Regions from separate parts of the Homo sapiens genome. Here all the other regions are linked to region 1. Evidence: promoter capture Hi-C in human tissues and cell types (Jung and others, 2019). All regions are on one chromosome and are shown on one strand. The core of a region is centred on a gene start or on the middle of the fragment in contact, and the rest is flanking DNA. Distances in the headings are between cores, read along the strand shown.

Region 1 (2,937 bases), core at 211-2,710:
CACCCAGGCTAGAGTGCGGTGGCATGATCTCAGCTCACTGCAGCCTCCACCTCCCAGGTTCAAGCGATTTCTCCTGCCTCAGCCTCCCAAGTAGCTGGGATTACAGGCGTGTGCCACCTGGCCTGGCTAATTTTTGTATTTTTAGAAGAGACAGGGTTTCGCCATGTTGGCCAGGCTGGTCTCCAACTCCTGACGTCAAGTGATCTGCTCGCCTCAGCCTCCTAAAGTGCTGGGATTACAGGCGTGAGCCACCGCACCCAGCCTGCAAGTCTCTTCTTGACCTGACCCGTCCTCAGCCTGGGGAATTGTGCGGTGCAGCAGTTAAGGGTGTAGAATCTGGAGCCATATTTACCACCTCATGCCTTGGTTTCCCTGTCTGTAAGTGAAGCTCATAATAGCATTTACCTAAATTTATAAAAAACATTAGAACATGCCAGGTGCGGTGGCTCTCACCTGTGCGGTGGCTCTCACCTGTAATCTCAGCGCTTTGGGAGGCCGAGGCAGAAGGATTGCTTAAGCCCGGGAGTTGGAGACTAGCCTAGGTAAAATAGTGAGACCCCGTCTCTTAAAAAAAATGAAGAGAAAAAAAGCCTGGCGTGGTGGTGGTGGGCACCTGTAGTCCCAGCTACTCGGGAGGCCAAGGCAGAAGGATCGCTTGAGCCCAGGAGTTGGAGACCAGCCTGGGTAACATGGTGAGATCCCATCTCCTAAAAAAAAAAAATGGAGGGAAAAAGCCTGGCGTGGTGGTGGCGGGCACCTGTAGTCCCAGCTACTCAGGAGGCTGAGGCAGGAGGATTGCTTGAGCCCAGGAGGTTGAGGCTGCAGTAAGCCAAGATCGTGCCACTGCACTCCAGCCTGGGTGACAGAGTGAGACCCTGTCTCAAATAATAATAATGTGCTGCCGATGCCAGGCACGTGGTCAGGGCTGCCTGTATGTATGGCAGCTGTTGTTATTCTTATTAATGGGTGTCTTTGTGGTTGTTTCTGGCCTCCTTTGTGAGGCTGTGCAGGCACAGTATGTGAATTTGGATCTGACTCCAGCTAAACATTCTTGCCCTCCCCCTAGTTCTGTAAGTCTGTAACTATTTGTAGCTGTTGGCCCTTGTATGGCTGGGAGACTGCGTGCGTGTGTGTGTGTGCGTGTGTGTGTGTGTGTGTTGGGGGGCGGGGGCTGCTTCTGAAACACACAGGAGCGCCCTCCGGTGCTGTCCCCTGCCTCTGGTGCTGAACCCGGAGGCTGGGGAGGAGGCTCGGGCTCCCTGCTCCCCCAGGCCCCTCCCCGGGCCTCCCCCCGCCTCCCGCACCGCCTTCCCTCTGCCCGCCTCCGCCTCCTCCCCCTCTCTCCGGCTCCTCCCCCTCCCTCGCTCCCTCGCCGCCTCCCCCTCCCCCGTGTCCCTCCCCTCTCCTCTTCTCCTCCCTCTATCCCCTCTCCCTCCCCTCCTCCCCGGCTCTCCCTCTCAGTCTCAGGCTTTTCTCTCTCTCAATCTCTCTCTCTCTTTCGGGCGGAGTCGCCCACCACTGCCAGCCCAGCGCTGGGGGGACCTGCTCCAGGCTGTAGCCGCAGGTAAGAGACCCCATTGGTGGGGAGGTGGGGGCGTGGGAAAAGGACGGGGTTACCCCAGGTGCGGAGTGGGGGCGGTTCGGGAAGCCTGGAGCTGGCTTCCCTGGGCTGGTTTATGGAGGTGGGGGGCTGCCTGGCCCAGCACGCGTACCTTCTGTGGGGTGGGAGTGCCACCAGCCGCCCCAACACCTTCAGTCCCTCCTGGTTCTCGGGCGGCTGGGGAGGGGGACCGCCTGGGTACTGGGGGGCGAGGACACCCCGCCCCCACCCCGTCTGGGGCACCCCCCCTCGCGCTCTCTACCTCTGCCCCCGCCTTCCTGTGTCTGGGTCTCATCTTTCTGTCTCTCCACATGTCTCAGGGGTCTCTGTCTAGCAGAGTCTGGCCGCCTCTGGGAGTCCCTGTCTCTCAGTCTCTCACTCCTGTCTCCCTCTCTCTGTGTCTCTGTGCCGGGGTCTGTTCGGAGTCTCTCTGGGGCTCTGTCTCTAAGTCCTGGGTTTCTCTCTCCTTTCCTCTTGCGCCATCTCTGTTTCTCTGTGTCTCTGTGTCTCTGCCTCTCTCCCTTGTCTCAGCTTTCCTGTGTCTCTCTCTGTCTCTGCTTTCTCTGTGTCTCTGTCTCTTCCCATGTCCGCATGTCTCTCTCTCTCTCTCTCTCTCTCCCTCCCTCCCCATCTCCCCCTCGTCTCCATCTCTGTCTCTGGATATCTCAGTCTCTGTTTCTCTCTCTCTTTCCTCTTCTCTGGCTCTCCCTGGGAGCCAGTGCACCCTCCTCCCACACACCTTTGTCTCCGCCCCTGGCAGGGGGGACCTGGAGGAATTAGACCCCCCCACCCGCAGAGTGGGCTCCCCCAGGCCTGGAGTCCTCTAAACTCCTCTCCCCACTTCAGCAGAGCTCCCCTGCTCTCTCCACTCCTCCCAGCCGGCACCCACCCCAGCTCTCCCCTGAGGACCGAGCCCACCTCCCCCTGCCTTGTTTCTGGCGTTCTGAGGCCGGTCCTTCTTGCAGTTTAACCGGTAGCCTCTGTAGTAGAGATGAGACCAGACCTCCCTTCAATCTAACCTCCCCAGTCTTCCTCGTGTAACTGGACCAGTCCTTCCTGCCGTCTCACTTCCATACCTCTTGCTGTTTGTCCAGCTCTTGATTCATTCATTCTTGTTGATAATTACTGAGCGCCTTTCCTGCTCTGGGCAAGCACTAGGTACTGAGTTAGACCGGGCCAGTCCTTCCTGCAGTCTCACTTCCATCCCTTTCCTGGTGTGCCAGCCTCACACTGTCTCAGTGGGGGGTGCTGAGAGGGCCCTGGCCAACACACTGTCTGCCTTCCTTGAGAGAAGGGGGCCCTGGAGAAGGTGGGCAAGAGAGTGAGTGATGGCGAAA
Region 2 (2,937 bases), core at 258-2,757, 1.1 Mb before region 1:
AGTCCCAGCTACTCAGGAGGCTGAGGTGGGAGGATTGCTTGAGCCCAGGAGGTAGAGGCTGCAATGAGCCAAGATTGCACCACTGCACTCCAGCCTGGGCAGCAGAGCAAAACCCTGTTTCAAAAAGAAAAAGAGAGAACAATACACAGCTTTTGGACCCCACTGCCATTCATCGTGCCTGGAACAGGACCTGAGAATCTGCATTTTCAGGAAGTTCCCACTTGCTGCTGCTGCTGTTTCTGGTCCAGGGACCACACTTTGAGAATGATTGGAGTTGAGACCAGGATGTTTGAAATGTTTGAAAGAGTGTTTACCTTCCCAGCTTGGTGTGAGGATTCAGTGGCACGTAACGTAAGACAGGCTTGGCCAGGTGCCGTGGCTCATACCTGTAATCCCAGCACTTTGGGAGGCTGAGGTGGGAGGATCACTTGAGCCCAAGAATCCGAGACCACCCTGGGCAACATAGCTGGACCTTATCTCTACAAAAAGAAAAAAAAAAAAAGGAAAAGAAAAAGAAAAGAAAACAAAGAATGCTCCATGAACATCAGCTGTCATTTATTATGATATATATATATTTTTTACCATATTTCATGGACTCTAAAGTGCTACCAATGGAGAGAAGCATCCTGATTGAGATGTGAGAAGCTCTGCGTCTTAGAACCAGTGGAACAGAGTAATACAATCAAACCCACGGGCCGTGCTCCCCTGCCGCTCAGTCAGGCCTGGGGATGCTTCCCCTAGCACCGGGCTCCTGGTGGACAGCCTTAGAAGGGATGAAGCCAGGGCCGCAAGAGGTTGTCCAGGGCCTCTCTGGCCATTTAGTGGGGGAAGGACATGGGGACATGGGGAGTGGCGGATCTGGGAGAACAGTCCCAGGCCCTGTCCTCCCTGTTGGTCACAGCAAACGTGGAGGAAGCAGCATACCCAGCCCCAGTGCCAGGCTGGTGGTGGCCCCCACTGTCTGGCTGCTCGGGGCTCTGTTACACAGGCGGCCGGTGCAGCAGTTGGTGGTGAGGCTGTAGGTGACGCCCCTGTAGCTGACGGGTTCCTCAAGGCCGCAGCTGGTGGCTCGCAGGCAGCCTTTGTTGATGACCGGACCAGTGCCCGGGGCGACCCCGTGGCCTGTGAAGCAGTCCTCGTCATCGCCACAGTGCATGTAGGTACCAGGACACTGCATGGAGTCGGTGAGCTCACAGAAGACGCAGTCCTTGACGCCCGTCGTGCCTGGGGGCAGAGCCATCACCAGAAGCAGCAGCCAGCACAGGACCATGGCGGCCTGGCGGCGTTGACCCTGCCCCAGCCAGGCCGTGGGCTTCCCAGACCTCCCGGAACCGCTGAATGAAGGACCTCTGAGGACTCCTCTTGCCCACGGGACTTTGGCCCTGGTCCTGGCCTCCCAGGGTCAGCGCCTGGAGTGTCCTCTGTTCCCAACGCCCTGCGTCCCTCTAAGTCCTGGGGATGGAGGTGAGCGGGTGGCTGCTGCCCAACAAGAGTCTGTGAATGGAATGAGTGATCTCACAGATCCCTCAGGGTTCCCACTGGCCGCTCTGGGGATGAGGTCATAGGTGAGAGGAGTGGGTGTCACAATCCAAGGGGTGGCCTGCCCCGCCGACCTGCCGGGGCGCAAGAGGGCTCTGCCATCCCTGCCAAGGTGAAGACGCCCTGAACCCAGAGGACGCTGGCCACAAGCTTGTCCGCATTCTCTGTGCTGTACACCCGCCAAGGGCTTGACTTCAGCCTCACACCTCCCATAGTGACCCCATATTCCAGATGGGTAAACTAAGGCTGGGGAAAGTGATGTATCCAGGGTCCCCGAGCCAGGATGAGAGCCAGGTTCATTGAATTCCAAAGAGGCTGGGAAAGAAGAGGGTGTATTAACTGAGCACTTGCTGTGTGCCAGGATTCATGCTCAGTGCTTGCTTGCTTTTATTTTTTTGAGACGGAGTCTCTCACTCTGTCACCCAGGCTGGAGTGCAGTGGCGTGATCTCAGCTCACTGCAGCTTCTGCTTCCCAGCTTCAAGCGATTCTCGTAACTCAGCCTCCCGAGTGGCTGGGACTGCAGGCGCATGCAACCACATCTGGCTAATTTTTGTATTTTTAGTAGAGACAGGGTTTCACCATGTAGGCCAGGCTGGTTGCGAACTCTTGAGCTCAAGTGATCTGCCCGCCTCGACCTCCCAAAGTGCTGGGATTACAGACGTGAGCCACCACACCACGCCTGGCACTTGGTGCTTTCAATAACAACTACTGTGATGACAGGAAGTGTTAGGGCACCGGCCCCCACAGCTCACAGGCTCTCAGGGCCAGCTACGTGCAGGGGGCTTGATTCAAATTCAGTCATTTGAATATTCCTATGTTGTATTTATTTCTTAATTTTATTTTTTATTTTAAAAAATTGGCCGGGCGCAGTGGCTCACGCCTGTAATCCCAGCACTTTGGGAGGCCGAGGCGGGTGGATCACCTGAGCTCAGGAGTTCAAGACCAGCATGGCCAACGTGGTAAAACCCCATCTCTACTAAAAATACAAAAATTTGCTGGGCATGGTGGTGTGCACCTGTAATCCCAGCTACTTGGGAGGCTTGAACCTGGGAGGTGGAGGTTGCAGTGAGCCAATATTGTGCCACTGCACTTGAGCCTAGGCAATAGAGCAAGACTCCATCTCAAAAAAAAAAAAAAATAGGATCTTGCTCTGTTGCCTAGACTGGAGTGCAGTGGCGCGATCTTGGCTCACTGCAGCCTCAACTTCCCAGGCTCAAGTGATTCTCCTCCCTGAGCCTCCAGAGTAGCTGGGACTATAGGCGTGCACCACCATGCCCGGCTAATTTTGTAAAATTTTTTATAGAGATGGGGTCTTGCTATGTTGCCCAGGCTGGTCTCAAACTCCTAGCCTCAAGTGATCCTCCTGCCTCGGCCTCCCAAAGTGCTGGGATTACAGG
Region 3 (2,937 bases), core at 320-2,819, 1.1 Mb after region 1:
TTCCCTTCCTTCCTTCCTTCCTCCCTCCCTCCCTTCCTTCCTTCCTTCCTCCCTTCCTCCCTTCCTTTCTTGACGGAGTCTCGCTCTGTCGCCCAGGCTGGAGTGCAGTGGCACAATCTCAGCTCACTGCAACCTCCGCCTTCTGGTTTCAAGTGATTCTCCTACCTCAGCCTCCTGAGTAGCTGGGATTACAGGCTCCCGCCACCTCACCCAGCTAATTTTTTGTATTTTTAGTAGAGACGAGGTTTCACCATGTTGGCCAGGCTGGTCTCGAACTCCTGACCTCGTGATCTGCGTGCCTCGGCCTCCCAAAGTGCTGCGATTACAGGCGTGAGCCAACTTATTAGTATCTCTGTCCTCGGGATCCCACTTCAGAATCGCCCAGGACTCAGATGTGGAATGGACACTTTAGTGGCCTGCAGATGGCAGCAGGGGGGGTTCACTATTTGTAACACAAAAAGGGATTTAAATAGTGCCTGCAGGGTCCAGTCTCCCAATTTAAACTTTGGCATTTGTGGTTTCAAACTCACAGAATCTGAACGGTTGCCCCAAAAGACCGATGTCTTGATTCCAAATCAGCCTCTATCTGACAGGCCCAGCTGCCACCCGCTGCCACAAAAAAACAAGTTCAGGGGAACAGTTTGGTTTTTTGTTTGTTTGTTTTTGAGAAGGAGTCTCGCTTTGTCACCCAGGCTGGAGGGCAGTGAAGCGATCTCGGTTCACTGCAACCTTTGCCTCCCGGGCTCAAGCGATTCTTCTGCCCTCGGCCTCCCTAATGGCTGGGATTACAGGCTCCTGCCACCACACCTGGCTAATTTTTGTATTTTTAGTAGAGACGGGGTTTCACCATGTTGGCCTGGCTGGTCTTGAACTCCTGATCTCAAGTGATCCACCTGCCTTGGCCTCCCAAAGTGCTGGGATTACAGGGGTGAGCCACCGCCCCCAGCCTCACTCTTTACTACGGGCAGATTCGTCATAGCCTTGGGGGTTGAACTCTGTAATTCTCACAGCAGCCCAGGGATGCAGCTTCTATTATTATCATCCCCATTATATAGATGAGGAACCTGTGGCTTAAGGAATTGAGGGACCTCTCCAGGGTCACAAGGCATGGTGGAGACAGAGGCAGGGGCCTTAGCCAGGGCAGGACACAGAGGCAGAGGCCTCAAATGGCAGGATGAAGAAATGGAATGCCTTCCTATGAGAAGGAGGGAAGTAATGGAAGGGAAGGGAGAATAAGGGCCTATTTATCAATGAGGATAGGTCAGGCTTTACGTTTGCATCCAAGCTTCAGGGGAACCTTGAAGTCTTGGAGTTCTTTTTTCTTTTTTTTTTTTTTTTTTTGAGACGGAGTCTCGCTCTGTCACCAGGTTGGAGTGCAGTGGTGCAATCTCAGCTCACTGCAACCTCCAGCTCCCTGGTTCCAGTGATTCTCTTGCCTCAGCCTCCGAGTAGCTGAGATTACAGGCACGTGTCACCATGCCCGGCTAATTTTTGTATTTTTAGTAGAGACGGGGTTTCACCATATTGGCCAGGGTGGTCTTGATCTCCTGACCTCGTGATCCACCCACCTCGGCCTCCCAAAGTGCTGGGATTACAGGCGTGAGCCACTGCGCCTGGCTGGACGTTTTTACTTTAAGAAGTCCCTGAAGGATGCAGACTAGGGGGCTATTAGAAAGAACAGTTGCCCAGGCGCAGTGGCTCATGCCTATAATTCCAGCACTTTGGGAGGCTGAGGCAGGAGGATGGCTTGAGCTCAGGAGTGAGAAAAGACTGGGCAACATGGTGAAACCCTGTCTCTACAAAAAATTAGTCGGGCGTGGTGGCATGTGTTCCCAGCTATTCAGGAGGCTGAGGTGGGAGGAGATAGCTTGAGCCCAGGAGATGGAGGCTGCAGTTAGCTGAGATCGTGCTACTGCACTCCAACCCGAGTGACAGAGCAAGACCCTGTCTCAAAAAAAAAAAAAAAAAAAAAAAAGAAAAAAGAAAAAAAAGAAGGAAGGCAAGAGAAAGAAAGAAAGATCCTTACAGGCCTGCCTAGAAAAAAATGTCCAGATAATAATAAGGAAAAAAATGATAGAAATACATATGTAGAATGAGTCCATTTTGGTTAAATAAATAAATTTATAAAACTAACATTTATCGCCTGCTAAGACATGCCAGGGATTGTCTGAATGTTTTTGTTCGTTTGTTTTTGAGAGGGAGTCTCGCTCTGTCGCCCAGGCTGGAGTGCAGTGGCACGATCTCGGCTCACTGCAAGCTCCGCCTCCCGGGTTCACGCCATTCTCCTGCCTCAGCCTCCCGAGTAGCTGGGACTACAGGCGCCCGCCACCACGCCCGGCCTGTCTGAATGTTTTCTATGGGCTTTGTCACTAATCCCACAACTGTTAACTATTCCCGTTTTACAGGCGCAGAGGTCGCACAATGCCCAAGGATGGCAAAGTGAGGTGGCAAACCTAGGTCTTCTGACTCCAGAGCCCAGGCTCTCAACCCCTGTGCCCTGGTGCAGGTGGCTCTGGACTTGCTTGGTGCACCAGACCTTAGTAATTCAGTCATTTTTTCCATAGCGCCCCCAAAGAAATACCTAACAGTTCCATTCTCATCTGGTGAGGTCTAAACAACCTAAGCTCTTATGTCCTAAGAAGTTAGTAGCCATTTGAAAATATGTAGAGCTAAGGAGTTTGAGATCAGCCTGGGCAACATAGCGAGACCTTGTCTTTATTAACATAAAAAATGAAAATATATAGACACATAAATTGAAAGAAAACAATTTTTTTTTTACTTCATTCTTAACCGTATTTCCTTACTAAGGGGAACGTGTGTGCTTGTTAGGCACTGCACCAGTTCTCAAAACCCTGGGAACAGACTGAACACCGCCACCCTCAGTTCCTGGTTGGCATTGATTTTCTGGTGGGACTTGCCTTTTATCCCTGCAACCAA

What was found. The method cuts DNA at HindIII sites, captures the fragments that hold promoters and counts their contacts. A contact is called where the count stands out against the background at its distance.
Region 2: a contact is called between the fragment with the promoter of SPACA4 here and the fragment with the promoter of SLC8A2 in region 1, in 1 of the 25 tissues and cell types used here (dorsolateral prefrontal cortex).
Region 3: a fragment that was not itself captured here is called in contact with the fragment with the promoter of SLC8A2 in region 1 in 1 of the 25 tissues and cell types used here (psoas muscle).

What each region holds. Positions count from the first base shown.
Region 1 is chr19:47,470,416-47,473,352 of GRCh38, reverse strand. It overlaps SLC8A2 (solute carrier family 8 member A2), which reads left to right and starts at 1,460. Exons shown (of 10, transcript NM_015063.3): 1 at 1,460-1,564. The HindIII fragment of the contact is 16,110 bases long and covers 1-2,937 here.
Region 2 is chr19:48,605,312-48,608,248 of GRCh38, reverse strand. It overlaps SPACA4 (sperm acrosome associated 4), which reads right to left and starts at 1,507. Exons shown (of 1, transcript NM_133498.3): 1 at 535-1,507. The coding sequence starts at 1,270. The coding sequence ends at 896. All of the region lies in intron 5 of FAM83E (family with sequence similarity 83 member E), which reads left to right. The HindIII fragment of the contact is 21,490 bases long and covers 1-2,937 here.
Region 3 is chr19:46,399,316-46,402,252 of GRCh38, reverse strand. All of the region lies in intron 1 of PPP5C-AS1 (PPP5C antisense RNA 1), which reads left to right. Among named protein-coding and RNA genes, the nearest start is that of PPP5C-AS1, 3.5 kb to the left of the region's middle. The HindIII fragment of the contact is 5,392 bases long and covers 1-2,937 here.